Regions from separate parts of the Homo sapiens genome. Here all the other regions are linked to region 5. The links are contacts of gene promoters, found by promoter capture Hi-C in blood cells and fetal thymus (Javierre and others, 2016). All regions are on one chromosome and are shown on one strand. Each heading gives the region's core, a stretch centred on a gene start or on the middle of the fragment in contact. The rest is flanking DNA. Distances are from core to core; before and after follow the strand shown.

Region 1 (4,030 bases), core at 1,009-3,508, 410 kb after region 5:
AAAAGAAAAAAGATACTAAGGCCCGGGCGTGGTGGCTCACACCTGTAATCCTAACACTTTTGGGAGGCTGAGGCAGGCAGATCACCTGAGGTCAGGAGTTCGAGACCAGCCTGGCCAACATGGTGAAACCCCATCTCTACTAAAAATACTAAAGTTAGCTGGGCGTGGTGGTGCGTGCCTGTAATCCCAGCTACCTGGGAGGCTGAGGCAGGAGAATTGCTGGAACCCGGGAGGCGGAGGCTGCAGTAAGCCAAGATCACGCCACTGCTCTCCAGCCCGGGTGACAGAGCGAGACTCCATCTTAAGAAAGAAAAAACAGAAAAAAAGATATTAAGGAGAGGTAACTTGGGATGCAGCACTTTCAAGTCAAGCTATTAAGTCACAGAGAAAAATCAAAATTTTTCTTTTCTATGTCAGGGTTCAGAAGTTTATCACCCACACATCCCGTAGGAGGTTAAGGAGGCCCCCTGACAAAATGAAGAAGGGACACAAGGGGATAATATGACATAAGAAAGAGGGCATCACAGATACTGTGTGAGTCCTGCTCTGCGAGACACCTGAGGAGTCAGTGGCACAGAGGCAGGAAGTAGAAGGATGGTTGCCAGGGGCTGTGGGAGGGAGGAGGAGGAATGGGGATCTGGGTTCAGTGGGTGGAGAGTTTCAATTATGCAAGATAAAAAGAGCTCTGGAGCCGGGTGCAGTGGCTCATACCTGTAATCCCAGCACTCTGGGAAGCCAAGGCAGGCAGATCACTCGAGGCCAGGGGTTCGAGACCAGCCTGGCTGACATAACAAAACCCTGTCTCTACCAAAATTACAAAATTAGCCGGGCATAGTGATGCATGGCTGTACTCCCAGCTACTGGGATCACTGAGGTACAAGAATCACTTGAATCCAGGAGGCGAAGATTGCAGTGAGCTGAGATCATGCCATTGCACTCCAGCCTGGGCGACGGAGCAAGACTCTGTCTCAAAAAAAAACCAAAGAGCTCTGGAGATGGGTGGTGGCGATGGCTGTACAAAAGTGATTGCACTTAATGCCAATGAATGTACACTTAAAAATGAGGAAGATGCTCAATTACATGTTATTCATTCACATTTTATCACAATTAAAAATGGTAATAAGAAAGGGAGGAAGGAAGGAAAGAACCTAATTAAAACCTAGACGATGAGAGGATGGGGGCCACGATTCTTAGAACTGTCTTCTTCAAATGGGAAGAGTTTGAAGCTTTAGGATTGTTTTTCCTTACCTTCATATAGCAACCTGATTATATAATCATATGTTAGCACACCAATATTGTACGCTCACTTTTTTGTTTTGAGATGGAGTCTCACTCTGTCGCCCAGGCTGGAGTACAGTGGTGTGATCTTGGCTCACTGCAGCCTCTGCCTTCTGGGCTCAAGTGATTCTCATTCCTCAGCCTCCCAAATAGCTGGGATTACAAGCGCCCACCACCACGCTCGTCTAATTTTTGTATTTTTAGTAGAGGCGGGGTTTTTGCCATGTTGGCCAGGCTGATCTTGAACTCCTGACCTCAGGTGATCCTCCCGCCTTGGCCTCCCAAAGTGCTGGGATTATAGGTGTGAGCCACCATGCACAGCCTCCTGCCTTCTCTTTGAGCTAAGCCATAATGCCAGCTTCTCAGACATCATCTTGGCATGACCAACAAGGCCATGACCACACGGGGCCTATCCCAGGGCGCTGACAGGCTGCCGTCTGACACCTGAAGCCTGACAATTGCTGAACTGGGATGTGTAAGGAAGGCAGTTTTTTTTTTTCCTCCATTAACAATTGAAATACTTCTGCTTGTAGGAAAAAATGCCCCTCCCTCCCTTGGATACATACGTTGTGGTATGATGCCTGCCCTCCATGTAGCAAAACATACTAGTGATCTGAGACTTCAGAATCTTTTTCTTGCCTGGATTTTAGAAATACTTTGGTGGGAATCACATGTGGGGAGTGATAAATGAACCTGTATCTTAGGTTATTCATCATCCTGAAGGAACTGCCAGAGTCTAATTTTGTTCGAAAGTCCTCCAAGGGAATTAAAAAAAAAAAATCCTTTCCTCCAGTTTTTTTAGGCCCTCAAGAACATGCAAATTACAAAAACATAAATAAGTCCTCCCCACCCCCCACCCCACCTCCAGAGGTATTCCATAGTCAAGTGTGTGCTAGAGTTCATGATGCCCATGTACGGCCTGTGGGATGGGGTGAGGCTCCAATCACAGGCGATGTGGTTGTGGTTCCGAGGTATCTGGCCCTAGGCTGCCTTTCCCTTTGACAAGGCAATCGGGTCCAACCTGGGACCCAGACTGCACGACCTCTTCATGTGAACTTGGGGGAGGAATAGCAGGGATCAGTGGCCATCCACTTCCTGGGGATGTGAGACCCTCTTGTGGGATAATTCCCAGGGTGACTCTCTTGGCTCCCAAGGGGCACAGAATGGGCGCCACCCACCTGCTGCAGAGGTTCACCTGATTCCTCGACCCATCTGGCTTGTGCCTTGCCCCAGGAATCCCCAGTCTCTTTGTGGAGAACTCCTGGCATTGATCTTTTCATGAGCCAGGTGAGAGGCTGGGCCAATGGAGCCTGTGTCTCTTTGTGCGTGTGCTCTCAGCTGCAGGCCTTCCCAGCCAGGAGGGATGTGTGGCTGAATTCCTGGTACGACTTCCATCTAGTGTTTTACGAATCTGAGCCTGGAGTCATAGAGGTGCTTTCAGCCATGCTTTCCCCTCTTCCTCCTGGAATGGTCTACCCACCTCAGAGGCAGCATTTTCCTAGGATCAAGCAGAGAGATCCCTGTGACCAGTGATTAGAGACCTCCTGCCTTCGGTGTGCAGTGTGGGGCTGGGGACTGCTCCCACTGTCTAGGGTGGGGTGGCACTTAGCAAAGCCTCCATCTGCAGCCCCGGTTTCCCAAGGGGACCAGAGAGCCTGCCCACCTCTGCTGCCCAGGGCCCACTTATCACAAAATAGGCTTGTCTTGGGAAAAATAATTCCCGTCTGACCACACTACTCATTGCCTCATGCTTCCTTCGTCCTGTGTCCTCATATTTACAGAGCTGCTTAGGTTGTCCCTGCTTTCTAAGCCTCCCAGACAACTTTGTTGTGAATATACAAGGTTCCCCAGAACATAAGCCTGTCCACTTTCATACAGTGAATCTGTCAGATCCAGACACTTCCCTGCCTGCCGTGGACTTTGGACGTAGGGAGAGGAAGCCCAGTGGCCAGGTGATTGATGAGGCTCTGACTTCAGAGTCAAGGAACTTTGCTACCGGGTTGCAAGCTTTTCTACACCACGGCTTCATTGGTGGAACAGAGTGTTTGGGAGCAACAGATAGCAGCCCTCCCCACTCAAAGGGCACAGGGATTTCATGATAATTCCCTGCTGGGCAAAGCAGAGGGAATCTTGAGTTTTTGTGTCTTCCAAGATGGCAGCTCTTCTGACGGCAGGTTCCCCCACTGAGTCAGAACCTACCTCACCTGCCTCTTTGCTTCTGCTTAGTCCCTTGACCTCAAAACTAACAACTCCCTTGGTTATAAGCAATTATTCATTAAATAAATAAATAAAAACCAACAACTGTGTGTGCTCAGCTCGGCAGAAAGAGGCCCGGAGGGTAGACTGCGGTGCCCTTTCTGGCCCCTCTCCCGTACTTGGTCTGTCCTTGGGCCTGCAGATATACTTCTTCAGATTCAGGGCAAACCCAGGTGTGGACGACCATGGTGCAAGGTCAGGGGAGTTGGCTAGAGGCATGCATCTGGGCATGACACGGAGCTCGTTAGTTGGAACAGCTCGGAATCTTCAATGCCAGTATAGGCATTCTCTCCCTTTTTCTCTGAGGAAACACAGAGATCTGATCTTTGTCTGGTTATTGAGAACTAAAGCAAATTGAAATTGACTCCGAGATGTGGGTGTTTAACCAGATGCCTTCACCTGTTGTTTGAAGATGTGGCTGTCTTCAGTCATACAAACGAGGCGCTGCCTGTGTCTTCGCAGTCTGCTGGAGTCAGGCTCAACTCTAAGTCGGCAG
Region 2 (3,797 bases), core at 538-3,037, 370 kb after region 5:
TGATGAGCAGGAGCTTCTGAATTTCCTTTCTAGGTGAGAGCAGGTGCTGGGACCCATTGTGAGCTGTGTACAGTGACTGTTCCCAGGCGTTCCCATCAGCTCCAAGGTGCAAAATCTCATTTTCTCAGGATGGGTAAAGCTTCTCTCAGGAGAATGCCACAAACCTCAGGCAGAGCCTGATGCTAACAATGGCCTAGATTTTGAAGGCTGTTATTACAGTTAGAGGCAGGACTATGGGTCCCTCAAGCTTTCTTTCAACCTGAAGACTCTTTGTTCTTCTCTGTATACTGGCCGGTGTGGTATCAGCTGTGTCATTTGTAACCCAGCCTTGCTGTGAAGGGGGAGAAAGGATACAGGAGTCAGGTTCTGCAACTGCCAAGGTACACTCCCCTAGCCTTAATCTTAGAGAAGCAGAATTTGTTGATCATTGTTATTCATTTCCTTTCTGGGCACTGTATTCCATTAATTCAGATAGAACGATGTGCACATCAAGAGGCATTTTCCAGACTGGGTGTGGCAGCTCACGCCTGTAATCCCAACACTTTGGGAGGCTGAGGCAGGAATATTGCTTGAGGCCAGGAGTTTGAGACCAGCCTGGGTAACATAGCGAGACCCCATCTCTGTGTTTTTAAAAAAAAATTAAAAAAAGAAGCATTTCCCTCTTAAAAGCTAGAAATCTGGTACCCTTAGTCCTTTTCCTCCCTGTCTATTTCTCTATTCCACGCAATCCAATCTGCCATCACATGTTATACATTGTATGAAAGAAAGAAAATCTCTCCCTTTCAAACATAAACACCTTAGGGTACCAGGCAATTCATGTAAACACAGCAAGTCAGCTAATAAAAGACAGTAGGGAGGGGTGGGGTCTGTGGCTAACTGGAGAATGCTTTCTCAGCTCTAGGACTTAAGATGTGCCAGCCAAAACCTGTCTGTCACCCTTGTTGCATGGCACCCTGGGAATCTGTGACCCTGCCTCTCTTCTTTGATCATCCTGCTTCTCTGTCTCAGGGTGTACAATAGCCTTTGTCTGGTGCTTTGCCATAAGCCCATCCTCATTCTAGCTTTTCCCACACCATCCCCCAGAATTATCTTCCTAAAATGGCAAATCTGCTCCTCACTCCCTGACTTACAGGCCTCTGTTGACTGACCAGAGCCTCCAGGATGCAGTCCAAACACCTTGGGAATGAATATAAAGCCTTTTGTAATTTGCCCGAAATGCTCTGTTTGTATTTTTGTCCCTCGCCCCCACCCCGCCGGCAGTAGGGAGCATCCTGAGCCTTGTTTTGATGTTATCTTTGTGTGTCTGGTCCTAACATAGTCTCTGCAAAAAGAGTCAGTGCCATATGCTAGTGAATGAATGTGTTTGTGCATGCTGCGCACAATGGGCAGTGTTTATGTCCTTATTAATTTCCAGTGGGGTGTGTGGAGGAGCTGGTGAAGGAGATGCAACCCCCATATAAAGGAGCATTTAAGTCAGTGGGGGAAGACCCCTGACCTTAACCTCCCACAGCCTCCGCGACCTGGCCTGCATATTGACCCAGGAGGGATCATGGCAGTTCTTACAGAGGTGTGCAGTGTGCCTTGATTAAAGACAGTGGGAGACAGGATAGAACTGTGATTTAAAACTAGAGCGTGGACTCTGGAGCACAGGAGCTTGGGTTCAAATGCTAGCTCTATCACCTCCTCTCTCATACTTTCTAAGGCCTGAAATTTCATGTGCTTCCTTGACACCTTGGAGCCTCACAAAACCTCAAAGACTTAGCTGCGAGTTCCCTGGCTCTGGCTAGATTTCTTCCCACCCAGTAGGAAAGGCTCCCCACCTAGGTAGTTCCACATCAACCAGACCAACTGCACCCAGCCCAGTCCTCAACTTTCTGGGTTCTACCTCACTGCCTGCCAGCAGAATTCTTCAAACAAGCCAGCCACATCCTCCTGCGGGAACTAAGGGTCACCTCACCCTCTTGTCACTACAGAACCTGCCTTGCACAGCCCCTTCTGGTTCACTGTGTGCAACCTTTGAGTGGCCCCACATGGCCTGCGATGTTCTCCTCTTCTGAGTTATGTCACTAGTCTGTGCAGCATTGCTTGTCATATGTTCAGCTGTCTCACACTATTTTCATACTATTTAAGGTGAGGGATGTCTCCCTCACCACTGCAGTGACTAAAGGGGGTCAGAACAACTTGTGAAAATGACCTAACCCTCTGTGCCTCGATTTTCTTCTCTGAGAAATGAGAAGTTATCATACTACATGTGTTAATCCATTCTCATGCCACTATAAAGAACTGCCCGAGACTGGGTAATTTATAAAGGAAAGAGGTTTAACTGACTCACAGATCTGCAGGGTTGGGGAGGCCTCAGGAAACTTACAATCATGGTGGAAGGGGAAGCCAACATGTCCTTCTTCGCATGGCAGCAGGAGAGAGAAGTGCCGAGCAAAAGGGCGAAAAGCCCCTTATAAAACCATCAGATCTTGTGAGAACTCACTTGCTATCATGAGAACAGCATGGGGGGACTGTCTCCATGATCTAATCACCTCTCACGAGCTCCCTCCCCCAACACATGGGGATTACAATTCAAGATGAGATTTGGGTGGGGACACAGAGCCACACTATATCAGTACCTTTATCACAGGTTTGCCATGAGCATTGAATGAAATAATGTCTATAAAGACTTAAAACAGTGCCTACACACAGGAAGCACTGTGGAAGTATTTGTGATTGCAATTTGCTATTTTTGTCTTAGTGCAGTGGCTGTCAAACTTTTTCCTTTGTTTGTTTGTTTTGAGACAGAGTTTCTTTCTGTCACCCAGTCTGGAGTGCAGTGACACTATCTCAGCTCACTGCAATCTCTGCCTCCCAGGTTCAAGCGATTCTCCTGCCTCAGCCTCCTGAGTAGCTGGGACATGGTGTGCACCACCACGCTCGGCTAATTTTTGTATTTTTGTAGAGACAGGGTTTTACCATGTTGGCCAGGCTGGTCTCAAACTCCCAACCTCAAGCAATCTGCCCACCTCGGCCTCCCGAAGTGTTGGGAATCCAGGCATGAGCCACTGTGCCCAGCCGGTTCTCAAACTTAACATGCATCAGAATCACCTGGAGAACTTTGCTGTGTCCCACCCTGAGAATGTCTAATTTAGTAGGTCTGAAATGGGACCTGAGAATTAGTATTTCTAAGTCTCTAGGCAATGCCGATGCTGCTGATCTGAGGCCTCCACTTTGAGAACCACTGGATTCGTGTAAATATCTGCAGGTGAGGGAGCTGGGGATTTGTCTTCAACGTGGCTAAGTTGCTACATGGATTGGCCTCACCATTTGCCTTGAAGCTTTCCTTCTTCCTTCTGCTCAGGGTCCCACTAACTGTACATGTAAATGTGATGCAAATTCAAGAAATTCATTGTTTTTGGCTGGGTGTGGTGGCTTACACCTGTAATCCCAGCACTTTGGGAGGCCGAGGCAGGCGGATCACTTGAGGTCAAGAGTTTGAGACCAGCCTGGCCAACGTGGTGAGACCCCATCTCTACTAAAAAATACAAAAATTAGCTGGGTGTGGTGGCACATGCCTGTAATCCCAGCTACTCAGGAGGCTGAGGCAGGAGAATCGCTTGAACCCAGGAGGCAGAGGTTGCAGTGAGCCATGATCGTACCACTGCACTCCAGCCTGGGCGACAAAGCAAGGCTCTGTCTCAAAAAAAAAAAAGAGAGAGAGAGAGAGAAATTCATTGTTTTCTTTGAAAGATGGATTCTCTTATCTTCTCATTCCTTGGAGAAGCAGCGCTTCAGGTCTGTCCATGGTGTGA
Region 3 (3,604 bases), core at 417-2,916, 440 kb after region 5:
TCAGGCCGCAGTGCAGTGGCACAATCATAGCTTGCTGCAGCCTTGACCTCCTGGGCTCAAATAATCCTCCCTCCTCAGCCTCCCAAGTAGCTGGGACTCCAGGTGTGCATCCTGTAGATTATTGAAAGCATGCTTGCAGGTTACCTGTAGAGAAGTTACAAAGGAGACTTCATTGTTGTGGCGGGGAGGAGTCTCGGAGAACTCACATGGAAACATTTTAATTATAGTTCACTCTAACATCTTTGAACAAGCAAGCTGTCTTCACTGGCTCCCTCCAAGCCTCCATGCAGCTGCTCTTGCAATGCCTAGACCTGCCCCAGGCAGCACTCAGTCTCCCAGACTCGTGGAGCATCCTAGGGAGACCCTTACTTCCTCAAAGTTGCTGATCTTAACCTCCTCCCTGCCTAGCAACTTGGGTCTCAGCATTCCCAGCCTGGTCTCCCTGGAGAGTGGCTTTTAGCCTGAGAATTGGAGACCCAGCCTGAGGACACTAAGGTACTTGTGGAGAAAATACTTTGACATCTTGATCCCACTGTCCCCACCCTTTCACAGCAGAAAAATGCCCCTCCCACCCTTGAGTCACTTCGGCACAATCCTGTTCTATTCTTTATCTGCAATCGCACATTGTGCTCTCAATTTTATTTTATGCAGGCAAGCTCTTCTCTTGAACCTATCACACTACCCTGTCTGGAATTCTAGAGTGATCTATTGGCAGCTCCTTCTCTTCAGTTTTCCTGGCTCATCCTGCCACACTACACAGCCTCACCTTACAAAGAGACAGTGGAATTTGAAAGTGCCGGCTGGCAGCGGTGGACAGACGGCGCCACCACGCGGTAGCTTGGTAGCATAGGTTGCTAGACACAGTACCAGAAGGAAAAAGTTTGACCAGGAAAGGTGACTGTGTGTCGCTATCCAAATCTATGTTCGGCTTGTACAGAAGGTGTATCTGCAGAAGGCTAAGGACCATATATGTAAGTTACATGTAACTTTGGACATGTCCAACTTTGCTTTGGATATTTTTCAAAATAGTAACATCCTTATATTCTGGCTGTTATACCCTGATTTTTCACCCCCCATTTAATTAAGCATTTATAAAGCTCGTTATTGTCTTATTTTCCCATGTTGGGAATAAAAGTATAGCTTTTATGTGACCCTACGTAGAGGGGTAGAAATGTGAAATGGGCCAATTAAAGTGTCAGAAGCTACTCCAAGCTTTTGATGGTCTACCCTAGCAGGGGAGCATAGAGGTGCGAAAAGTCCTCACTTCCAGACACCCAAAAATCAGTTCAGTTTTTCTTTTTGCCATTTGGAGGGGAGAGGGTGACATTTACTTTTCTAGTGACTTAAAAACATAATGTTATTTATTGCATGCGTTCTGGGAAGTGAAGAAAGTGGGCCAGGCCAAGGAAGTCCACCGGATGCATGGGCAAAGCCAGACCAGGATCAAACAGGTTCTCACCATCCTATGTAATTTGCCATCAAGTCATTCATCAGTCTGTCCATCCATCCATCCCTTCAATCCACAGAGATTCACTGAGCACAGGATTCATCTTTTTGGAGAGAGAGAACTTAGAATAGTTATTTCATCAACTGCAACTGGGAAAACAGGCTTGAATTTGTAGGACTGGTGGGCTGGACATGACTTTGAAAGATCATCTTGCCTCTTAAGTATTTTTTTTTTTTTTAGCAGTTGAGCTTTTGGAACAAGTTCCTAAGCGAACACTCTGGATGGAATAGATACCACCCTTTCCATGAAAGTTCCCCTCTGCACTTGGCAGAAAATCCCTGATCTAGCCCAAGTCTCTAATGTTATAAGTGAAGAAACTGAAGTCTCAGAGTGGAAAAGGAAGTCATCAGGGATGACTCAAGTCAGAGCTCCTGGTTCCTGAACCCTGGGGCTCTTTCCTCCCCTCTAAGAGCTGATCTGTCTGTAGCTGGTCATGTTTCCATTTCAGAGGGTGGAGGGAACATCCAGGATGTCTCAAAAGGTCTGCTTTCCTCATTGTCTCAGCTTCCCCTCTGAAGCTCACTCCCCCCCACCGCTTTCTTGATGTTTTTTCTCTTGTCCCATTTGAACTGCAAGAAGTGCCCCTCCCATTCTTGGACCACCTGGAAGCTTTTGAGCAAGCTTTTGGAAAATTATCTGTTTTGTGCATTGCAATAGAAAACTCAAATGAAAGGAGCCAGATGGGATTGAGGGCTGGGAAGCGAACAGGGAGAAATGAATCATCTTGGGCCTCATCTCCAGAGTCCTTGTCCAAACCTGGGCAATTCTTATCCCCCTCTGTCCCTCTCTTTCCTCTCCCCTTCTCCCTTCCCATGGCTTTTTATGATAATGCTTTTCAAGCTCCCAATAAGAGCAACGTTTTACAGAAAAAAAAAAATAAAAGGGACAGTGTTTTGCCAGTAAGATGTGTGTTCCCGTGTTAGCACCACTGATCGCCCAATAGTTGCACGTCTAAGATTTTTCTTTGACTGAGAAATCCTACCAGGGAAGAAGAACTACTCCTTGGAGACTTTGTCCTCCACATCCCCAGTTCTGTGCTGACAAATACAATCCCGTCGTTACCTGGAAACCTGGTGATTTTCCAGAACACGTGGAGGAGAATGAAGAACTTAATAGCCATTTGCCTGCAAAATATGCCATCATGGAGCCTGGTGCTTGTGAATCTCTGGGTTGAATTGGATAAACAGATGGACAGATGGGTGAATGATCTGATTACCTGCTAACCTGAGATTGCCCACAAGGTTCCATCTTGGTCTGGCTTCGTCTGTGTCTGGCAGACTTTTACGACCCACTTTCTTCACTCCCCAGGACTGATGGAACAAATAACATTATTCAACGGAAGTCATTCGAAAAGTAAATGTATCACCTCAAAAATGGCAAAAAGAAAAATCTAGTTGATTTTGGGGTGTTCTGAAGTTAGCACTCTTCACGCCTGTACTTTCTTCTCCTAGCACAGACAATCCACATGTAGGGTGATGGTTGTGTGTGTTTGGGGTTGGCCTCACTGGTATTACAAATCCAGTTACTGTCATCCATCTCTTCCTGCTACTACTTACTCTGAAAGATGGTTTTCCTTTGAAGGATGGAGAAATTCTCTAATCCAGACCTCCTGACAGCTAGGCTGCAAACACACACACACACACACACACACACACACACTCTTACACTCCTACAAAGACAAAGAAAATCCTGGGAGGGATTTTAAGACACGTGCTCATTTCAGCACTCTGTCCTCCTGGTGACATCTCTCTATGAAGCATCTGGGACTTCACCTGACAAGCACCTGACAACCTGACTGAGCACTCGGCCCTTACTGTATGTGCCTCAGTTTCTACGTGCATCATGTGAGAAAGGCAGATTGTATCCATGGCTATGAGACTGTTGGGCTTTGTTGGACAATGAAGACGTCCCCCAAATATGTAAAGACTGACAAACGACGGCCACCCTTTATATTTTTCAAAGTGAAGGCATTGAAGGAAAGATGCAATCGTAGACCGCCATGGTCAGTGAATTATTTTATGAGAGATCACCCTTCTAGAAAGTGCAGCCAGGTGCAGTGGCTCATGCCTGTAATCCCAGCACTTTGGGAGGTCGAGG
Region 4 (3,969 bases), core at 1,326-3,825, 350 kb after region 5:
TAATTAGAGAAAATGGGTGTCTTAATTAGACAAAAATATCGAAATTTTTAGAGCACTTTAAACAAATTCGGTTTTATTACTTCAAAATACAAATTAAAATCTGACAATGGGGACCAGAAAAGAGTTCTCCATCCGTTAGGGTTTGTTGGTTGTGAGCAACAGATGTCATCTCTGGCCAGCTAAAGCATATGAAGAAGTTTTTCAAAAGTATAAGGAGTAACTCAGAGAATCTAAGGAAAAGCTAGTCTTTGGAAGACCAATAGCAAGGCATCCCAAAACCTGCAATAATAGACGGGAGCTATGGGCAGTCTCTTCAAAGAGCTGACGTCAGAATGACTCACGAACAACCATTTTCTGCCCCTGTGTCATTCAGCTCAACTTTCAATTCTGGAAGAGAAAATCGGATTGGGAGAATCCAGGTCAGGTTGTAGAGGCCAACACTAAGGGGCGGGGAGGAGCTTGTTCATCGGACTGTGTAGGATGGAGGCAGGGAATTTCTCAAAGAAAAGCGGGATGCTATCACCAAAAGAAGCAGTAAGGATGCTGAGCTTATGAAAACTAAACCCCCCCAAGCACAATGCCTTCTTAAATGACATCGAGATATTTATACACAAGAGGGAGTTACAAGAACGAACTTGCTATTTATTTGTCATTGTAGTTTTCATCCATATATCATAGAATGTTAAAGTTCACCGTAAAAAGACGACTTTGGAAATTATTCAGTTTACCCTAGTATGTGCACTTTTCAAATCAAGAAACTGGATGTCTTGTCCAAGGCTGGGTAATAGCAGAGGTGGGACCAGAAGCAGATGTTTTGACTGTGATATGAGGCCCCGTTGCTATTCCATTCTGCCTTGCTCATCAAGAATTACTTTTAAGTTGCTTAAAGGCACATTATCTTCTTGTGTGGCTAACCATTTCTTTTGCAATCTGAATGATGCAATTAAATTGCCTAGACATCTTTGTTATACATTGTATCCAACCCTAGACTCTAGATTCTAAATCATTCAAATGTACCTTAATTTTTATTGTTGCTCTGATTTCAAATAGAAACCAAAATGTCTAGGATACAGCAGTGATGATTCTTAAAGCTGACCCTGGGAGAAAATCTACTAACGGATAAAGTTTGCCAGCCCATCAGGTTGACTGCCCAGATGCTTGTCTTCCCTCCGAAAGGATCTCTGGTTACACTAACATGACCTTGGGGAGCAGCTTTCTCTCCAAGCATAATAGTATCTTATTTTTTCTTATTTTTCTGGCCAGAGAAAATATAATATCATTTATACTAAGGCCAAGTTTTTGTGGGGGAGACAAAAAGACAGTTTATTTAGTGATTCACTAAGTTCATTGGTAGAAATAACTCTCTCCAAAGCCTTGTATTGTTACACAGCTTTGCTGATAGGATTTTTTATTGTGGATGCAATTTCATCACTTTATAAATATAAGGCTTTGCTTTAGATTCACTATTTTTATGGCAAAGTTACATTCTCATCTAATAGCATGTGTTATATTCATTGCACTAAGCTAGTTGAGTATAAAAGACATTGGTGATGTGGTTCCCTTATCATCTGGTCAGTAGTAGGAGGATTAAGAGCAGAGAAATCATGTGTCTGGTTGAAAGGGAGGAAAGAGAATATTTTTGTTAAATAAAAAACAAAACCAACAAACTTTTCCCAAGTGGACAAAGAATTTTAGAATTTGGATGAACCTGAAAGATAATATAGTTCACCTCTTTGTTGTAAGAGGAAATTGAAGCTCACAGAAAGTGTGACTCCTCAAAGAGCACACCACTGATAGTAGAACAGGGAGAAGAAAGACTAAGCTATGCATTTTAGATACAGCATCTCAGTTACTGCATCTCTGACAGGCAAAGATGCCCAGCCTCTCCCTTCTGAGATCCAGGTGGATTTCTGATTAGGTAGAACTTTTACCCTGGAAAACTATTTTTCCACAAAGCTTTAAAATTATAAACAGTGATTGCCATGGCCTGAATGTTTGTACCCCCAAAATACCCAGTTTCCAATGTGATGGTTAGGAGGTGGGGCTGTCAGGAGGTAATTAGGTCATAATGGTGGGGCCCTAGAGACTGGATTAGTGCCCTTAAAAGAGAGGCCCCATAGAGTTGCCTGACCCTTTCTACCATGTGAGGATACAGGAAGAAGTTGGCAGTCTGACACTCAGAAAATGCACCCTCCCAGACAATGAATCTGCTGGTGCCATGAATTTGGACTTCCCAGCCTCAAGAACTGTGAGAAACAAACAATTGTTGTTTGTAAGCTGCTCAGGTATTTTGTTATAGCAGTCTAAACAATGTTTTTTTTTTTTTGCTTTTATTCAAATCAAGTTTTAACATATATACAGTAAAACAAATCTTAAATATACAACTTAAAGAATTTTTACGGGCCAGGCATGGTGGCTCACGCCTGTAATCCCAGCATTTTGGGAGGCCAAGGCAGGCAGATCACCTGAGGTCAAGACCAGGCTGGTTTGAGACCAGCCCAGCCAACATGGTGAAACTCTTTTTCTACTAAAAATACAAAAATTAGCCGGATGTAGTGGTGTGCACCTATAATCCCAGCTACTCAAGAGGCTGAGGCAGGAGAATCGCTTGAAACTGGGAGGTGGAGATTGTAGTGAGCCAAGATCATGCCACTGCACTCCAGCCTGGGCAACAGAGTGAGACTTTGTCTTAAAAAAAAAAAAGAATTTTTACATATGTATATCCCATATAACCACTATTGAGATCATGATACAAAATACCCTAGCAACTCAGAAGCATTCCTGATAGCTCTTCCTAAGCAGTAATTTCCTCTAAGAGATAATTAGTATTCTAATTCTTTTTACCATAGATAGGTTCCACCTGCTCTGGAATATCATTTAAATGGAATCATACTGCACATTCTGTTCTGTAGCCAGCTTCTTTTGCTTAATGTGACATCTCTGAGGTTCGTCTGTGTGCATTGCAATAGTTGATTACATGTTTTTTACTATGCAGTATTCTATTGTATTTATATGCTACTATTTGTCCATTCTTCTGTGAATGGATGCTTGGGTGTTTCCAGTTTGGGCTATTAGGAGAAAAACCACAATGAGTGTTTTGTATTTGTGTTTTGATGAACACACACTCATTTTTCTTGTATATGTACCTAGGGGTAGAATTGTTGGGTCATAGCATAAGCATGTGTTAAGCTTTAATAGGTAAACCAGTAAGTACTATTTGAGAATTGGGGAAAGATATTTTCTTAAGAGAGTATTCAAGTATTATTATTACTAGAGTTTTCTTCATTTTCTTTTCTTTTTTTTTTTTTTTGTTGTTTTTGTTTTTGTTTTTGAGACAGAGTCTCATTCTTTCACCCAGGCTGGAGTGCAGTGGCATAATCTCAGCTTATTGCAACTTCTGCCTCCTGGGTTCAAGCAATTCTCCTGCCTCAGCCTCCCAAGTAGCTGGGATTATAGGTGCCCACGCCTGGCTAGTTTTTGTATTTTTAGTAGAGACGAGGTTTCTTCATGTTGGCCAGGCTGGTCTCAAACTCCTGACCTCAAGTGATCTGCCCACCTCAGCCTCCTAAAGTGCTGGGATTACAGGTGTGAGCCACCACGCCCAAACTCTTCGTTTTCAATTAAACAAACAAACAAACAAAATCTGAGGCTTGGGATAGTTAAGCAGACCTTGTTTAAATGTGGCAGATTTTAACACATGCATTTCTGCTGCTTCCTAAAATACCGTTAAAATGAAAGTAAGAGTCTCTCTCTTTTGGACATACCTTTTTAATGCCATACTGTTACTCCAAGATGTGATGAGTGATGAGAGGTCCTCAGATATTTGAACCATGGATGCAGAAATGGACAAAGAGTAGAGAAAGATGGAGTCCAGGTGATTGCAAAAGGGAAGCCACGAAGAAGCAAGCTGAAATGTCCTGCATAAACCCTAGGAAGTGTCGAGATCCTGAGGCTCCAAACTTGGAGTAG
Region 5 (4,008 bases), core at 153-2,652:
AAATGAGTGTTGGGATGGCGACCCGACATCAGGGGAGGTCCTAAATCCTACTCAGCTTCAGTTTCTCCTCTCCCCATCATGTTTCCCGCATTCACTTCCCACCCCCCGCCTCCCTCAGGGCCTGCAGAACCCGGCTTGGTCTCTGTGCGGCTAGAGCGAGAGCCCCCACTGGCAGGGTGACAAAAGCCCCTGAGGGCCACCGCGGCGCGTGAGCGCCTGGGAAAAGCCGGGGCGGTGCTGGCCTACGGGGTTGAGAAATGGAGGGGCGAGTGTCAGGACCGCGGAGCCGGTTGCTCCCGGCTGGCACAGAAAGTCCTCCTCCTGGCCATCCAACTCGCTGATCCTCAGAGCAAGGGTTTCCCAAAGAACTCTGTGCCATTTCCAGGAAGACGAGGCAAGAGCGGAGATTGTGGCGCCAGCACGCCCAGTATCGAAACGCACAGCAGGGGTGCCGGGTGTGGGGGGGGGGCGCTGAGGACAGAGACATCGGGGCGCAGAAGACAGTCGCTTGGGGGACTTGGCCAGCGGCTTTTGGGCACGGCCTATGCAGTGGTTTTTTCTCTCCAAACCTAGACAAACTGTCCTTTCTGTCCCGAGGTGGGGGACGGGGACGGATCCTAGATCGTTCAGCGTCTAGGGAGAGAAGCCCCTCTTTCTCCGCTCTGCGCCCGCCGCCTGCCTCTGGCAGGCTCGGATCTCCGGGTGCGCTCCCGCAGGAGCCCCAGCTGGCATCTCACGGCCTCGCTCCCCTCGCGCCAGGTCTCTTTTGTAGGGGGCTGGGAGAGAAGTTGTCACCCGTCGCAGCTACCTGAAATCTCGGGCTAAAGGGCACACGCCACGCACACGGGCATGAGGCTGCGAGGACACGTCCGTTCCAGCACACTCTACCCACAGCCCCCTTACTCAGGCAAGGGTACCCGTTGTCGTTCATTCCTACTACAATCACCCCAAAAGGCACAAGAGCGGAGAATCACGCACCGGGACCTAAGCTCAGGCACTCGGATGGGCACACCACCATCAGCGCAGATGCACACAGGTGCCCAAGTGCGCTTCTCGCTCCCTCCATCTCTCTTATCACACACACACACACACACACACACACACACACACACACACCCCTCACCTTTGCTTTTCCGCTGCAATCCGCTAGCTCCGGTCTCCGACACCCAGCGGCTGTCCCCGAGCCAGCTGGGCGCCGGGGCGCGCAGCAGCTTGGCTAGCGCCTGGCGCCGGACGTTTGGGGTTCCTGGCTCCTCGACCCTCTTGTGCCGGCTCCCGCTAGCCCCTCGCACGTAGAGAGCTCCCCTCGCCCGCAGACCCCCGGCGCCAAGCCTCAGACTGGGGCTCTGGGCGCTGGTGGTCTTGCGAGCGCGCGCGCATGGGTGGCTGCGCCGCTGGGACTGGCCCAGCCAGCCCGGGCCCCTCGGCACATTTCCCCACGCCCCCCTCCCGCTACGTCACAGCGGCTTCGCTCCGCCCCCCCAACCCCTCCTCCCGGGTCCTGCAGAAGGACAGGGGTGAGACCGGCTGAAACGCCTGCGGGTGGCCGCAGGCAGAGCTTACAGACAGCCGGGGAGCGGGGAGAGAGGGGACCCGCCTGCGGGGGCGTAAAAGGTTAAGCGTTTTCGGTCTCCTCAAGACTCATGGCAAGGACAAGCGCTATTTTCCCTCTGATTTCACAGAGTCGATTCCCTTCCACCCATATATTCTAGGCAGCTGGAGTGGCGGCCGGGGTGACCCAGACTTATACCGGGACCTCTGTGATTTCCTTAGCCAAACAAGTTAGCAAAGCTGTGTTTACCGTGGGCCAGCCCCGGGCGCAGGGCGCAGGGCCAGGCTAAGAGTAGGGAGAAAAAGGGCTCAGGGGATAGCGCTTCTCCATGCAGTTCCCAATGAGCGCAGGGAGTGTAAACCCGCACCTGGAGTCCAAGATTCAGTCCTAGGAGCCATCAGAGGGCCAGTGGACGTCGACTGGTCCCAGCTGTCCCTGCGTCCCACAGCTTGGAGGTGCAGCGGCCATACAGGTGGTCCCCTTGCTGTAGCCACGTCAGTCAGCACCTGCTGGTCTGACCCAGCACAGTCTCTCCTACATGCTGTGAGGGAGCAAAGGGGAGCAGGCAAGAAGTGGGAGTCGCATGGAGTTGCAGCTGTTTATTTTTGACTGTGATGATTCAGCCTCTTTTCCAATAGTTTAATAAGTCATAATCAATCCTGCAGCCTCCCCTTCCTCACCCTCCTCCAAGTACATAGGTATACACACACACACACACACACACACACACACACACCATCCTCAGTACAGTTTTAGAGGATGTGAAAACAGAAAGCAAACCCCAACTAGCTTTCTCTGTGAGCTGAGCTGCCTTGATTTGTCCATCCTATTATCTGATTTCCAATTCACCAGGGAAAAGTAAAAGTCCAGAAGCTGTGTGGCAGGTGGGGTGAGCCTTAGAGATAGATGAGTGACATGGAAAAGCAACCACCAGGTACAGCAGCAGCCAGCTCTCTCTTCTATCTGGGCCAAGCTGTATCTTGGGGTACCCACTGTGAGATGGGGATCAGGAGTTTCCATCTCTCTCTGAGACGTTGGTCATGATAGGGCTTAAATCTTGGCATCCTGGAGCTCAGGGTGAGATGGAAATTGAGCTGCAATTGCCTTAAGTTCCAGGAGTCAATCTGGGAGCCAGCATCTCTTTTAGACATGTGTATGCAAGTGGAAGGGCTGGGGTGGCTAGCTCACTGGAAGAGGGCTGTGTCTGCTCACCGTCAGTGGGAAGAGGGAGAGGCAGAGAGGTAATAGTAATATCAGGAGGGCATCGTGGAATTGTGCTCAGGGGAACTCGGCATCCTCTGGCCACACAGTTGCTACAATGCCTGTTGCCACCTCCAGTTTAAAACCAGTAATCTGACTGGTTTCCAGGAAAAGAAGGAAGAGCCAGGAAGTGCCCACTCTGCCCTCAAATTCCTTTCCTAAAAGTTCTCAAACTGTTAATACCAGATTTACGTTTCATTAAAAAAAATAATAACTGGAGCCAGCAGAGTCCGAGATGATGCTGCTGTTCTACCCTGGCTGCAGGGATGGGCTGATCGTGGAGGAGGGACAGCGCTGCCGCTGCCACTCCCTCGCCTGCAACACGTGCCTCTGTGTGCACTTCACCCACAAGGTAACAAATTGGAAGTACTCAAAGCTGAAAGAAGTGGATGATGGGCTTGGGGGAGCAGCTGCCTGGGAGGATGTTGACTCTACTGCAGAGCCATGTCCTCAATGAGAACCTCCTTGTGCTTACTACATGTAGCTTCAGACCCACTCTGCAGATGAGCCGAAGACCACCTTCTACCAGTGCTGCAGGACTCAGTGTGGACACCACTGGAGGGATTAGGGCAAGGACGGCCCAGGTGCCTGAGCGTCTGCTTACCTCCGGGTAGATGCTCAGCTGGGAATATGAATCGTGTGTCCTGAGGGTCTTTGCTGGTGTGGTGGAAAGCTAACCCTTTTAAGGTGAAGAGACAGGGTGTCAGGAAATGTGGCCTATCTGCCAGTCCGAATGGATGAAGTCATTGATGTCCAGGGAGTTTTTCTGTGTGGGGAGGGGACCCATAACTAAGTATGCTCTGTTTGAAGTCCTGTTCTTTCTTCCTTCCTTCCTTCCTTTCTTTCTTTCTTTCTTTCTTTCCTTCTTTCTTTCTTTCTTTTTTGAGACGGAGTCTCGCTCTGTCGCCCAGGCTGGAGTGCAGTGGCACGATCTTGGCTCACTGCAAGCCCCACCTCCCGGGTTCACACCGTTCTCCTGCCTCAGCCTCCCGAGTAGCTGGGGCTACAGGCACGTGCCACCGTGCCTGGCTAATTTTTTGTAGTTTTAGTAGAGATGCGGTTTCACTGTGTTACCCAGTATGATCTTGATCTCCTGACCTCGTGATTCACCCACCTCGGCCTCCCAAAGTGCTGGGATTACAGGTGTGAGCCACCGTGCCTGACCTCTTTTTTTTTTTTTTTTTTTTTTTTTTGAG
Region 6 (3,971 bases), core at 1,281-3,780, 490 kb after region 5:
CACAATCATGGCGGAAGGCAAATGAGGAGCAAAATCATGTCTTACATGGCAGCAGCAAGAGAGTGTGTGTGGGGAAACTGCCCTTTATAAAACCATCAGATCTCATGAGACTTATTCACTATCATGAGAACAGCATGGGAAAGACCTACCCCCATGATTCAATTACTTCCCACCAGGTCCCTTCCGTGACATATGGGAATTATGGGAGCTACAATTCAAGATGAGATTTGGGTGGAGACACAGCCAAACCGTATCATATTCATGTGCTGTCCTGAGTGGGCAGATCCATAGAGACAGAAGCAGAGTCATAGTTGCCAGGAGCTGAGGGCGGTAGGGGTGGGGAGTGACTGCTAATGGGTATAGCATTTGCTTTTGGGTGATAAAAATGTTCTGGAACTAGATTGTGGTGATGGTTGCACAACACTGTGAATATACACTAAATACCACTGAAATGTACACCTCATAAATGGTTAAAATGCTGAGTTCTATGTTATATTAATTTTACCACAATTCTTTTTTTTTTTTTTTTTTTTTTTTTTTTTGAGACAGAGTCTCACTCTGTCGCCCAGGCTGGAGTGCAGTAGCTCGATCTTGGCTCACTGCAACCTCTGCCTCCCAGGTTCATGTGATTTTCCTGCCTCAGCCTCCCAAGTAGCTGGGACTACAGGCATGCGCCACCACGCCCAGCTAATTTTTGTATTTTTGGTAGAGACAGGGTTTCACCATGTTGGCCAGGATGGTCTCGATCTCTTGGCCTCGTGATCCGCCCACCTTGGCCTCCCAAAGTGCTGGGATTACAGGCGTGAGCCACCGTGCCCAGCCAATTTTACCACAATTCTTTAACAAATCCTTAACGTGTCCTCTAAGCCCACCTCCCACCAGGCCATCCTCCACCTGCCACCCAGCCCAATCAAGATCAATACCTCCTGCAACATGTCTCTACACACGTTGGCCCCTTTGCCTCCAGTGGGTCTTCAACTCCTTACCTGGCCAGCTTCCTCCAGGAGCCCTTGAAGAAGCCCGAGGTGGGCGCGGCTGTCTCTATTCAAGTTCCAATAGCTGCTGCCTTCCTCCTGCAGAACAGGTTCCCTGGGGGGTTAGTGCCTTTCTCTGTGTCTGCGCATCTCAGACTCTGAGCAGCCAGAGGACAGGGATTCAAGCACTATTCTTTTATTTTATTTTTAATTGATAGGTAATTGTTGTCTATATTTTTAGCATACCTGTAGACACTGTGTAATGATCAAATCAGATTAACTGAGATACCCATCACAGCAAACGTTTATCTTTTCTTTGTACTGGGAACATTACAATTCTTCTCTTCTACCTATTTTGAAGCATACAATAAATTACTGTTAACTATAATTTCCCTACTATACTGTCAAATACTAGAATGTGATCCTTCCATCTTACTGTATTCTTACTGTACCCCTTAACCCACCTCTTGATCACTCTTCTCCTCTCTTCCCTCCCCAGCCTCTGGTAGCCACCATTCTACTCTACCAGCATGAGATCAACTTTTGTAGCTCCCACCTATGAGTGAGAATGTGCAACCATTGTCTTTCTGTGCCTGGCCTATTTCACTTAACATAATGGCCTCCAGTTCCATCCGTGTTGCTGCAGATGACACGATCTCATTCTTTTTATGGCTGAATAGTATTCCATTGTGTAAATGTACCACATTTTCTTTATCCATTTTTCTCTTGATGAACACAGGTTGACTCCCTGTCTTGGCTCTTGTGAACAGCCTCAAGCACTATTCTTTGTTGCACCCTGGATGTCGTCTCTGAGAGATTAGGAGCTCAGAAATTATTTGTGAATCGATGAATCCCTAAACTGCTTCATGATTGCTACCCCAAGAGCATGAGGCATGCTCTTGGAGTTTCTCTCTTTTTTTTTTCTCGTCCAGGCTGGAGTGCAGTGGCGCAATCTCGGCTCACTACAACCTTTGCCTCCTGGGTTCAAGCAATTCTCCTGCCTCAGCCTCCCGAGTAGCTGGGATTACAGGCGCACGCCACCATGCCGGGCTAATTTTTGTATTTTTAGTAGAGACGGAGTTTCACCATGTTGGCCAGGCTAGTCTTAAACTCCTGACCTTGTGATCTGCCCGCCTCGGCCTCCCAAAGTGCTAGGATTACAGATGTGAGCCACCGTGCCTGGCCATGTTCTTGGAGTTTCAAAGCAAGGAGAACATCCCTCCAGCCTCCACATTTCCATCTCTTACACATTTCTTTAGTACCCTCCTTCTCGCTGTTCACAGGGAAGGTATTTTCCCACAGTGGGGGAAAAAAAACACGTTGTAAATGGTGATTCAGTTCCTGAACTCCCCCACAAGCTTTACATAACCCACAAGGCACTTAAATACTTATAAACTATGCACACTTGAGTTAAATGGGCTTTTGTGAGCGGAACGGGCATCCAAACTGCCATTTATGGCAGCCCTTTATGGGAAGCTTTGCTGTGAGCTCAGGAAAGTTATAAATTTTTTGTATGCCCAAAATGCCATTGAAACATGGACCCTCTGCTTCTGTTTGTGGGATATTAGTTGATGAATGCATTTGACTGTCTTCCGAGATCCTCAAGGGAAAGGGCGCTCCTGCCAGGTTAAGCTTGGTATTCAAACTAAGAGGAGAACACGGGAGCACTGGATGGGCTTGTAGGTGGTGACGTTGTTTCCAAGACGACCTTGAGTATCAGGGGAAAGGCCGTCGGTAGCCTTCTCTCCCTCCCGCATTGTGTAAATGTACCACATTTTCTTTATCCTGCCCTCTACTTGCAATTCCTGGCCCTCTACTCTGCTGTGTTCTAGTAATTCTCTAGGGAGGAGGACCAAAATTGAGGGAGTCTTTCTAGCTTCATTTTCCCAATACCCCAAGTGTTCCTGGATACTATGCCTGCCGGGGAGGGGCCCACGGTCTGTGCTTTAACAAACCCTCCAGGTGATTCGGATGCACACTCGGGTTTGAGAACCACTGCTCTTGGTGAACCTCACTCACAAACCCTCATTTGCCCTGATGTTAAAAACATGCCATTTAAAGATGGCCGCGTCACTTCCGGCTTTAAATTTGCTCAGTTCAGGTTACAGATGCATTCAATTTGAGATTCTCCCACCCTCTTCTCTTTTTTCCTAAAGGAGATCTGGGTTCTCAGAATGTCCCATCTCCTGACCCGAAAGGAGTGGCATCTGACCAGATGTTGGCCTTTCTCCTTGCAGCATCTGCTGTGATGTAGCAGGGCCCAGCTGGTGTTGGCCATGGCCTCCTGTGTGCCTCTTTTGCTGGTCCCTGTGTTCCCACTGTCATCTTTGGCCCTGGATTTTATGTACTTAGCCTCTTCCAACCCCAGCCCTGCAACTCCCACCCCACTAGGGTCAGGAATGCTGGCTGCCTTCCATCCACAGTGCTAGGATGTGATGGGTTCTGAGAGAGGCTTCCCTTAGGTCCAGCCACCTGACACCACCCTCAGCCACTGCGGCTGCTGCTTGTGCAGTGGCTACCCAAGGCACCCAGGTTTGGTGATTTTACAAGGACTCACAAGACTCAGCACATAGTCACAGCTGAGATGTATTCTAGTGAGAAGCTACAAAGCAAAAGCAGCAAAGAAAAAAGGTACCCAGGGAAAAGTCCGGAAACCACCAGCACAAGTTTCTAAGAATCTTCTTCCAGGGGAGTTACACCAGATGGGCTTCACTCCTCCAACAGTGAGGTGGGACGGCACACGCACAATACTGTCGACCAGAGAAGCTCATTCGAGAACCAGTGCCCGAGATTTTATTGAGGGTACTGGTCACATAGGCACCCTCTGCCTAACGTATACCAAAAGTCTAGACTTCCATAAGTGAAGCGAGCATTTGACGTAAGCAATATTAGTTGCACAAACTGTTTAGGTACAGCAAGGCTCTCTTCTTATTTAGGGAATTTTTATATCTGTGTAGGGAACTGTTTACCATTCAAGTTCCCAGGAACTGCCTAAGG
Region 7 (3,975 bases), core at 126-2,625, 460 kb after region 5:
TGCTGCGATTTACTAGCTACATAGTCTTGAACAAGTGAATCGAGATCTCTGTACCTTGGTTTCCTCATCTGTCAGTGAGGGATGATAATAGTTTATCTCCCATAAGAAGATTACATGAACTAGCAAGTTGATATGTCTAAAATGCTCCATACAGTGTTTGGGCAAATAGCAGGTATGCTCTGGTAAAAATAATAGTTGTTGTTGTTTTGGAAAGAGTCTCACTCCGTCGTCCAGGCTAGAGTACAGTGGCATGATCGCAGCTCACTGCAACCTCCACCTCCCAGGTTCGAGTGGTTCTCATGGCTCAGCCTCCCAAGTAGCTGAGACTACAGGCGCATGCCACCATGCCCGGCTAATTTTTGTATTTTTAGTAGAGATGGGGTTTCACCATGTTGGCCAGGCTGGTCTTGAACTCCTGGCTTCAAAGGATTCACCCACCTCGGCCTCCCGAAGTGCTGGGATTACAGGCATGAGCCACCACCCCCGGCCAACAGTTTGTCTTATTTTGAGGTGGGTTCCTCTGTTTAGGGATCATCAAACAGAGAAATTAATTTCTAAGCCTCTCCCAAAGAGACACTGAGATAGAAGATAGCTAAACATCTCCTATGTTCATTCAGGTTCTTGGTTTCTGAAAACTCTGAGTTGATCTTGGTTGGCCATGGATGTTAACAGTTTTCCAAAATGGATTTAAGGACTGAATCTGTCTGGACTTCAGTTTGGCCATGGAGAAACAGATCATCAGAAAAGTGGGGGCAGGAAACCTTACTCTGTGTGTTTCACGGGCATATTGTCAAGACAAAGAATGTGGGTGACATGCTTGGAACCCTGTGGGGTATCGCCCCCCAACCCCCCATGTTACCTTTACCCCAGCAAGAAAATGCCCATTCAAAGGTGTTCTTTTGCTTACTGTGTCTCCTTATTATAATAGTTCTCCTATTTCTCCCCACACGGAACTGCTATAATTAAAAGGCCATCAGCTTTGCATATCATTACTTGGCTATAAAAATTTCTGCAAGTTGGAACTTGAGTGTAGAGGGATTTGGCTTTGATGCACAGGGTTTATGTTGCTGTCTTTCTCGCTCCTAAAGCACATACACACCAGCACATCAGTCCCACATGCAGGACTTTTCATTGCCTTGTGGTTTGGAAGGGATCCACTCCTGATGGAAACCCCCTAATATCTCAGGAAAAGCCTATAAAATAAACCCAAGTGGGAGGAAGAGGCAGACAGATGAAGACCTGCCAACCGACAGCTCTGGTGTCTGGTGATGGGGCGGTAAGGGAGCTTAGGAGATCAGGCAGCCCATTTATGTCTTCTTTCTTTCTGACTCCCAACCCCACAAAGACAGAGGGAATCAATTTTTTTTTTCCTTTCTTCCATTTTTTTTTTTTTTTGGTGAGATGGAGTCTCACTCTGTCACCCAGGCTGGAGTGCAGTGGCGTGATCTTGGCTCACTGCAACCTCCACCTCCAGGGTTCAAGCGATTCTCCTGCCTCAGCCTCCTGAGTAGCTGGAATTACAGGCATGCACCACCACACCTGGCTAATTTTTGTATTTTTAGTAGAGACGGAGTTTCACCGTGTTGGCCAAGCTGGTCTGGAACTCCTGACCTCAAGTGATCCACCCGCCTCAGCCTCCCAAAGTGTTGGGATTACATTTGTGAGCCACCATGCCTGGCTGGAATCCACTCTTAAAATTCCCTGGAAAAGAGGAATTCCCATACTCTCCCATGGACCCTTCCTGCTTTTGTGCAAATATGACTGCTAGAACTTGGCACTGTCGTGTACTTTGATGACTCATTTGGTAGAGTGGAAGACCGTCGGTCTCTAGAACTTGGCACTGTTGATCATCTGGTAGATAATTCTTTGTTGTAGGCGGGGGGTGCCCTGTGCATTAGCCTCTTCCCACTAGATGCCTTCCCCCTAGTTGTGACAACCAAAAATGTCTGCAGACATTGCCCACTGTTCCCTAGGGGTCCAAATTGGCCTGGTTGAGACCACCACCCTAGGTAGTACATGCTTCAAGCACTTGAAGGCCTACTATGTGCCAGCCACTGTGCTAGGTGCTGCCTAAAGAAAAAAACAGTAGCCTCCTATCTTTGGACTCAGTAGAACACAGGAAGATAGGGTTAGCTTGCGAGTTTATGAGAGCATGTGGATTGGTATATCCAAGGTTAGTGATCTGTCCACCCTGAGAAATGTCTATGTTCTTTTTTATTTTATTTTATGGAGACAGAGTCTCACTCCATTACCTAGGCTGGAGTGCAGTGGTGTGATCACAGCTCACTGCAGCCTCCATCTCCCAGGCTCAGGCAATCTTCCCACCTCAGCCTCCTGAGTAGCCAGGACTACAGGCAGGCACCACCACAGCTGGCTAATTTTTAAACATTCTATAGAGATGGGGTCTCTTTATATCACCCAGGCTGGTCTCAAACTTAACTTCTGGGCTCAAACAGTCCTTCCACCTCAGCTTCCCACAGTGCTGAGATTACAGGCGTGAGCCACCACACTCTGCGTGTCTATGTTCTTTTTTTTTTTCTTTTCCTTCCTTCCTTCCTTTTCTTTCTCTTTCTTTCTTTCTCTTTTTCTTTTTTTTTTTTTTTTTTTGAGACAGAATCTCCCTCTGTCTCCCAGGCTGGAGTACAGTGGTACAACCTCGGCTCCCTGCAACCTCCGCCTCCCAGGTTCAAGCAATTCTTGTGCTTCAGCCTCCCCAGTAGCTGGGACTACAGGCATGCACCACCACACCTGGCTAATTTTTGTATTTTTAGTAGAGACAGGGTTTCACCATGTTGGCCAGGCTGGTCTCGAACTCCTGACCTCAGGTATCTGCCCACTTCGGCCTCCCAAAGTGCTGGGATTACAGACATGAGCTACCATGCCTAGCCAGGTCTCTGTTCTTTAAACTGCATCACTCACTATCTCTTGAAAGAGCTCTTTCTGGCCCCACAGCCTTCCTGCTTAGCATCGCCACACAAGGAGATGGTCCCTCAACACCACGTCCTTGTGTGCCCTCCTCAGTGGAGAGCGGAGCTAGTTTTTGTCCTCCATAGATCCCCACTTCTGAGGCTTGATCAGCTTCCTCCACACCTCCCTCTCTTCAGGCGAAATTCCAGGTCTTTAACCTCCTGGAAGGCATTGTTGGCAGTGCCAAAACCATGCCAAACATCTGGGTGAGAACTGCAAAATGAGACCAGTTCTTCCAAAGTTTCCCAGCTCTGCCACTGGGATGGAATGTGATGGAAGGTGAATGTGGCCCCCAAGCACGTCGTCCCATCTGAGCTTGGTGGAGCTTCAGGCTGCAGGTTGTGCAGGGCCCACGTGTACCACGTGTGTCAGCCTGATATGGCTTGGCTATGTTCCCACCCAAATCTCATCTTGAATTGTAGCTCCCCTAATTCCCTTATGTTGTGGGAGGGGCCCAGTGGGAGATAATTGAATCATGGGGGTGGTTTCCCATATGCTGTTCTCATGGTAGTGGATAAGTCTCAGGAGATCTGATGGTTTTATAAGGGGAAACCCGTTTCGCTTGGCTGTCACTCTTCTCTTGTCTGCCGCCATGTGAGATGTGCCTTTCACCTTCTGCCATGACTGTGAGGCCTCCCCATCCACGTGGAATTGTGAGTCCATTAAATCTCTTTCTTTTGTACATTGCCCAGTCTTGGGTATGTCTTTATGAACAGCGTGAAAACGGACTAATACACAGCCCCACCTCTGTCTTACCCCTTTCTTGCCCTTGCCTTGGATTGCTTGTTCTGTCTCCTTCATTAAGGCCTGGGGACCCTGGGGGCAGGGCTGTGCATTCTGACTCCTGTGTCCCTTCCCTGGCAGTCCCCAGCCCCGCCTTTCATGGCGGTGTATCTTGGAGATGTTCAGAAACCACTGAATACATCCAGATGTTGGCTGTTGTATATAAAAATAGTTAAATGTCCTCCTGGCATTTTAGGTTTCCTTCAAACTGTATGTGATTCAGAA

Evidence for each region. The method cuts DNA at HindIII sites, captures the fragments that hold promoters and counts their contacts. A CHiCAGO score of 5 or more calls a contact.
Region 1: a contact is called between a fragment that was not itself captured here and the fragment with the promoter of SSTR2 in region 5, in 4 of 17 cell types (endothelial precursors, megakaryocytes, erythroblasts and 1 more). The highest score is 7.2, in endothelial precursors.
Region 2: a contact is called between a fragment that was not itself captured here and the fragment with the promoter of SSTR2 in region 5, in 1 of 17 cell types (M0 macrophages). The highest score is 5.3, in M0 macrophages.
Region 3: a fragment that was not itself captured here is called in contact with the fragment with the promoter of SSTR2 in region 5 in 17 of 17 cell types (erythroblasts, endothelial precursors, naive CD4 T cells and 14 more); the score reaches 23.8 in erythroblasts.
Region 4: a contact is called between a fragment that was not itself captured here and the fragment with the promoter of SSTR2 in region 5, in 1 of 17 cell types (erythroblasts). The highest score is 5.4, in erythroblasts.
Region 6: a fragment that was not itself captured here is called in contact with the fragment with the promoter of SSTR2 in region 5 in 1 of 17 cell types (fetal thymus); the score reaches 5.1 in fetal thymus.
Region 7: a fragment that was not itself captured here is called in contact with the fragment with the promoter of SSTR2 in region 5 in 4 of 17 cell types (total CD8 T cells, megakaryocytes, non-activated CD4 T cells and 1 more); the score reaches 5.4 in total CD8 T cells.

The regions. Positions count from the first base shown.
Region 1 is chr17:72,748,536-72,752,565 of GRCh38, reverse strand. All of the region lies in intron 6 of SLC39A11 (solute carrier family 39 member 11), which reads left to right. Among named protein-coding and RNA genes, the nearest start is that of LINC00511, 110 kb to the right of the region's middle. The HindIII fragment of the contact is 2,059 bases long and covers 1,229-3,287 here.
Region 2 is chr17:72,790,438-72,794,234 of GRCh38, reverse strand. All of the region lies in intron 6 of SLC39A11 (solute carrier family 39 member 11), which reads left to right. Among named protein-coding and RNA genes, the nearest start is that of LINC00511, 150 kb to the right of the region's middle. The HindIII fragment of the contact is 3,076 bases long and covers 250-3,325 here.
Region 3 is chr17:72,722,884-72,726,487 of GRCh38, reverse strand. All of the region lies in intron 7 of SLC39A11 (solute carrier family 39 member 11), which reads left to right. Among named protein-coding and RNA genes, the nearest start is that of LINC00511, 84 kb to the right of the region's middle. RefSeq lists a silencer at 758-827 and an enhancer at 878-947. The HindIII fragment of the contact is 904 bases long and covers 1,215-2,118 here.
Region 4 is chr17:72,809,426-72,813,394 of GRCh38, reverse strand. All of the region lies in intron 6 of SLC39A11 (solute carrier family 39 member 11), which reads left to right. Among named protein-coding and RNA genes, the nearest start is that of LINC00511, 170 kb to the right of the region's middle. The HindIII fragment of the contact is 1,233 bases long and covers 1,959-3,191 here.
Region 5 is chr17:73,162,404-73,166,411 of GRCh38, reverse strand. It overlaps SSTR2 (somatostatin receptor 2), which reads right to left and starts at 1,402. Exons shown (of 2, transcript NM_001050.3): 1 at 1,124-1,402. It also overlaps the pseudogene POLR3KP2. RefSeq lists a silencer at 1,148-1,487 and an enhancer at 2,028-2,277. The HindIII fragment of the contact is 15,303 bases long and covers 1-4,008 here.
Region 6 is chr17:72,676,613-72,680,583 of GRCh38, reverse strand. The region is part of intron 7 of SLC39A11 (solute carrier family 39 member 11); the gene reads left to right. Among named protein-coding and RNA genes, the nearest start is that of LINC00511, 38 kb to the right of the region's middle. The HindIII fragment of the contact is 156 bases long and covers 2,453-2,608 here.
Region 7 is chr17:72,700,360-72,704,334 of GRCh38, reverse strand. The region is part of intron 7 of SLC39A11 (solute carrier family 39 member 11); the gene reads left to right. Among named protein-coding and RNA genes, the nearest start is that of LINC00511, 62 kb to the right of the region's middle. The HindIII fragment of the contact is 7,138 bases long and covers 1-3,975 here.